2 separate regions of the Homo sapiens genome follow, and region 1 is linked to region 2. The links are contacts of gene promoters, found by promoter capture Hi-C in blood cells and fetal thymus (Javierre and others, 2016). All regions are on one chromosome and are shown on one strand. Each heading gives the region's core, a stretch centred on a gene start or on the middle of the fragment in contact. The rest is flanking DNA. Distances are from core to core; before and after follow the strand shown. Region 1 overlaps WDPCP (WD repeat containing planar cell polarity effector). Region 2 holds the start of EHBP1-AS1 (EHBP1 antisense RNA 1).

The links. The method cuts DNA at HindIII sites, captures the fragments that hold promoters and counts their contacts. A CHiCAGO score of 5 or more calls a contact.
Region 1: a fragment that was not itself captured here is called in contact with the fragment with the promoter of EHBP1-AS1 in region 2 in 1 of 17 cell types (megakaryocytes); the score reaches 6.1 in megakaryocytes.

The regions. Positions count from the first base shown.
Region 1 is chr2:63,487,575-63,490,274 of GRCh38, forward strand. The region is part of intron 2 of WDPCP (WD repeat containing planar cell polarity effector); the gene reads right to left. Among named protein-coding and RNA genes, the nearest start is that of WDPCP, 100 kb to the right of the region's middle. The HindIII fragment of the contact is 4,613 bases long and covers 1-2,700 here.
Region 2 is chr2:63,047,259-63,049,994 of GRCh38, forward strand. EHBP1-AS1 (EHBP1 antisense RNA 1) reads right to left here and starts at 1,263. Exons shown (of 4, transcript NR_033389.1): 1 at 1,131-1,263. It also overlaps a transcript of OTX1 not described here. RefSeq lists enhancers at 575-1,323, 1,302-2,710, 1,324-2,073, 2,074-2,736. The HindIII fragment of the contact is 1,878 bases long and covers 1-1,680 here.

The sequences.
Region 1 (2,700 bases), core at 17-2,516, 440 kb after region 2:
AAGGATAGGGAGAAAAGCAGAAACAGTCTCCTTATGCTACTAGAAATAAAATGGCTCAAAAGCATCCGGAGATGAGTTCGTCTATTCTAGGGATATGCAGAAACTGGAAAGTTTATCAATCTAATGAGAAAAGATTTACACAAAACTAGAATGGCATGAGAAAAAGATTAGTAAAGAACTGAAATCAAGAAACACCAAGTTTTCTCTTTCACACATCCTCTGATATTTTTCACAGGGTTCTACCAAAAGGAACTGCCACTAAGCAATGCCAGATGAAATCAGTGGATGGAAGAAAATGCCCTGTTGGATTCTGAGCTGTGGTTTTCTTTTCTCCAATTTAGCTCAAGAGTCTAGTTCCTATTCTACGGCATTTGGGAGAAATCCACAGACGAGAAAGGGAAGATTAGAGGAACGTTTGGATACATTATTATCTGAAACTTGTTTAGACAGGGAAAACCCCTTCTAAACCTAAATTCGGACACTTTGCTGGGGCTACCTAAGAAGCAAAGCTGGGCTTCCCAGATGTCAAGATTCATTTAACCAAGGAATTATTCCAGTTTAAATATAAGAGAACAAAATAATTTTGTCCATTTTCTTCATATCTATGAATAATAAAATATTTCTTTCATTGAAGGAACATTTGTTTTCTTCAATGCAAAATAATTCTCAGTTACTAACATAAGGATAAAGAGTATACAACTGTTTCTAAAGAGGTGGAAGCAGTACAGGCTGCCCCCTAGTGACTGACTGCTCCAGACTTTCTCAAACTGAATGATAAAACTTCAAAAAAAAGTATTACTGCTATAATTAACTTTTCAAATATAGTCTTTCAAAATAGTCAATTGCGTGTACTTGTTAAAGCTCTATTTTATTCATCATGCCATTAGTAGAGGCATACAATTTTAAAGAATGCAGTTTATGTCTACTGGTTAGACTGAATATATCTAATAAGGATTTATTGCGAAAAATCATGAGTAGGACTTCTTGGATACTGATATTTTATTTGTTGTCCTGGATGGTGATTTTATGGGTGTTTTCATATTCTGATGGTTCACAACATAATCTTATGATCTTTACACTTTTCAGTACATATATTATACTTCAATAAAAAGGCTTTTTTAAAAAATCTAAGAACCACAGGCACTACATATGCAGACAATATCTCCATTAAAATATTCCACCCTATAATTATACTCATCATTCCATACATCCAAATATATATCATAACTCTAGAATAGAACTATGAAGATCATAAAGAATCCTGAATTATGTGCACAAGTCTGACCTACTGCATCTGGCCCAGAGTGGAAACTGTCAAAACACAAGCAGAATAAGGAGAGCATCCAGTTAAGAAAACCTGCCCTACAGTGGGTACCAGAGCTGGATGGGGAAGGTGTCCATTCAGAGAGTCAGCCTGACATGGTGTGTTAGAACTCCAGCAGGGTAAGAACACTCACATGAAGCAACAGCCTGGTGTAGGGTATTAGAGGCTAAACAAGGTAAGGAGGACATTTACATATGGGGGCAACCCAACATGGTATATCAAATCCCACATGGGGTGAGAAGGGTATCTATACAGGGAAGGAGTAGCCACAGAGATAGGGGATTGACTGCAAACAGGGTGACTGATAAGTCAATAAATAAAAAATAGGGGAGCTCCAGGTTTCCCACTGTCTGAGAAGAAAAATACAAATATGGAAAGGGAGAAAATTAGAATGAACCCTATGGTGGTAGATAGGAATGAGATGTACCAATGTAAACTCATGGTTTCAATATAGAGAGATAGATACAGAAATAAATATGGATGTAAATATGTGTGTATACATAGATACATACATTCTGCAAGCTCTGTCCACTGAGAGGGCCTGGGAGCAGCAATGTTCCAATAATGAGTGCACCTAAAGCAGAACTTGGCTTCTAGAACCCTTGCCCTCTAAAAGGAACAAAGCTCCTTAGAAGAGTGACTGATTCCTAGGCTAGGGAAAGGAAATTACAACATGAGTCTGGAACATTTGTTGTACCAGAAAGAATTAAAGTGCTCAGATTTTGACAGGGACATGTCAAAAAGACACAGAAGCCAGCTTGAAGAGGGTCCCTCTGGCCACATCAGGGACAATTTAAACATCAAAATACATAATGAAATAAAATAATGATATGACTATAACAACTCCATAAAGTGGAAAACTTGAGTCCACAGAGATAAAATAAATTGATCATATATAATAATATATTTAAAGCATGAGGAACAGGATATTTACATAATTTCAAGGTATTTCCCTATGAAATACTTACTAATCACAAAGAAGAAAGTAACTTTGCAGTGGAGAAGCCGAGCAGACACTATCTTATCAGGTAATCATGAATATCATCAGGAAAGGGACAAATTGAAATTATGCACCACCTGATAGGATGCATTGAAATGCATAACCTGAATCTAATTGTGAGGAAATTTCAAATATAACCAAATTTACAATCATCCTACACAATAACTCACCTAATATCTTCAAAAATATTAAGGTCATGAAAATGTAAAAAAAAAAAAAAAGGCGGAGGATGAAGAATAACCCAGAATGAAGGACACTAAAGAAACATAACAATGCAATATGTTACTGTGAACAAAAATCCTTTTCCTAAAAAAAGAACAATGATGGGACAATTGGTAAACTGGTCCATTTAGACTGAAGTACATCATTGTTAATT
Region 2 (2,736 bases), core at 13-2,512:
GTTATTTTAAGTAAATGAAGTCGGTATTTGCCCTCTTTATTCGAGCACGAGAGCAGAGAGAGAGCTGCTGCTCTCTGGGGAACGCTCTCAGAATCCCGTTCTAACCCCGGGAAAACTCAGCAGACAGAAATCGCCCGCCCCAAGCAGCCTGGGGCCTGGGCGGCCAACAGCACCCACCCAGTTTACGCTTGATTCGAGGAACCTTCACTCCCGAGGGGCCTCGCCGAAAAGCAGCTCCTTCGCTCCCGAAGCCGCTCCCAATCGGCCAACTGACAACCCTTCCCTCGCCCCAGATTTGCTAGGATGGTCTGGGACCGCCGGGCGGCCCCTCTACCTGCCCCTTCAGCTTTAGTCCCGAGCCTCTCGGGGTTTCAATTTGGGCTGCTCGGTGGCGCCCGAACGCCCCTCAGCGGCGGTGGAGCGTGGACTCCGGCGCCTGGCGGGGTAAGGCCCGCGGCAAGGGCGCTGCATCCGGACATCGCTGCGTGGTGCCCAGACGCTGGCTCCCGAGAACGGGCACGAGCCCAGCACGCCGGAGGACCCGGAACTCGAAAGCCCGCGCTGCGGGAAAAGAGACTATCGGTCCGAGGGTCGCAGAGGAGCAGGGGCGTTGGCAGCGGGCTTGCTTGGGCACAGTCTGCGGGCCGGAGCAGAACTTCCGCCCCTGGTCAGATCCCTCGGCCTCAGATCCAAAGCCCTCCCCTTGTCCCAAGTGTCCTCCAGAGCCTGGCCGGGCCTGGAGGTCACCTGGATGCTGGATCCTTGTCTCCACACCCAGCTCCCTCGCCCCTTCCCGGCTCGAGGGCCTTGAGCTGGACGGCTTCACCTCCTCCAGTGGTGTCCCCACTTCCCCTTCCCGCACCGCGGCCGATGCTGGAACGGTCATGGCTTCTGGCCCAGCATCTCCCACCTGGACATTTGCCTAGCGACGGCCGCCTCAATCCTCTGCGCTGCTTTCAAGAAACTTTCATCCCAGTCTCTCTCCCTCTCCACTCTCCTCCCTCTCCCCCTCTCCTCTTTCTTTTCTTAATCCTGGGGTTTTATGGGCTGAGCGTTAAGAAAATTCGCCTGCAATTTGGGATTAGATAAATACTCTAATTAGGAAAAAAAAAATCCGTGCTACTTGATACCTCCCAACTTCCCCGAGAATGGTGGCAGCATCTGGAACCGAGAGCGCCGGCCTCCCGCGAGGCGTACCCCGGGGACCGCGCTGGCACATTCCAGAGCGCACTGCCGTCCCACCTCGCTGCGCCGGACCCAGGTCAGGTGCTGAGGCTGCAGGCGAAACAGGGCCTGGTGGAGGGAGGAATGAGTTAAGGTGGAGGAATGGGGCAAGGTCACGCGCCCCGGCACTGGAGGGCCAACCCCGGCACACAGCGGACTGGCCGGGACTAGGGCAGCGCCGGGCTATGGACGCGGACGCCGGCGAAGCGCACCCCGGGACGTCCGCATATTCTTTCCCCCAAAACTAGTGCGCTCCAGCCGGCGCCTTTCCTCGGAACCTAAGGAAGGGGTATATTTCGTTGCTTTCTTTAAACCTCAGCACGATCACAGTGGCTCCGAGCCGCGGGCGGCTGACCGCGGGCCTCGCGGGCTACTCCTGGTAGGGGCCTGCGCGAGCCTAAGGTGTGTCCCCGCCTGGGTTAGCGCTGCGCTCTGCACTGTTTCTTTTCCTCTTAAAGCTTCTTTCTCACTCACTCTCTCCCTCCTTCTCTCTCTCATTTTTTCCCCATTTCTCTCGTTCTTTTATTCAGCTTTCTCTCTTTCTCTCCCTTTTGTGAATGGGCCGCGGTGTCTTTGTTCTGTAGAGAAGCGCCCGTGTCGCTGACTTTTGTGAACCAGAGAAGGATCTTGTAAAACCTCCTTTTCTCCTTCGTACGCCCCCACTCCCACCCCTCCTCCCCTGCCTCTTTGATTAGATGTTCCCTCATCGTCAAAAAAAAAATGTAATTTCGTTGGTCTGGCGGCCACTTTCTTTGAACATTAGCTCGCTTTCAGCTCCAACTTCAATTAGAAGGAGTTGATTTTGAGAGATCAACAAAAGAACCGACCAAAGCCTTATTAAAGGTCCTAAGAAGATCTCCCGGGTCCTTTGAGAAGCAGTTAAGGAAACAGTGTGCCCTCCATCATATTCTGTTACCGTATTTTATTCGGACTCCAAAGGAAAGTGTCGCTTGGGGGAGGGGGAAGCACTTTGATGAGCGGCGGCCGCGGCCCCTTTTCACTCAGCGGGCTCCCCCTTCGTTCTCCTCCTCCTCACCCAGCGCCCGGTCCGCTCTCGGCGCCCGACCCCGCAGCCCGGGCAGCGCGAGTGCTCCCCACTGCGATGCGCCTGGAGGCTCCTTGACTTGCCCTCACACTTAATCCTGTGCAAACTTTTTACCCCGCCTGTCGGGGTGGGGGAGTGGGGGAGATTAGAAACAAGGGGTAGAAATTCCTCGAAAGGGAATAAAGTGCCTAATTTTCAGGAGGAGGTGCCATTTAAAAGATTCGCCTAGCTTAGAGTTGGAACGAAAACTCTTTTTTGCACTTTTAAAAGTCCACCCAGGTAGACGTGTTTGGGAAGTTTTTTCGGGTGGGAAATGGGCTTCGCCCGTACGAACAATCCGGGGAAATCGCCTCAAGGAGGATCCTTACGCAGCATGTGGAAAAAAGTTGAGGGCAGGGGTCTGTGGCCACATTTTCCATCAAAAAGTCCCTGTTAGAGGCAGTCTAAGAAAGAGAGAGAAAGAGCGA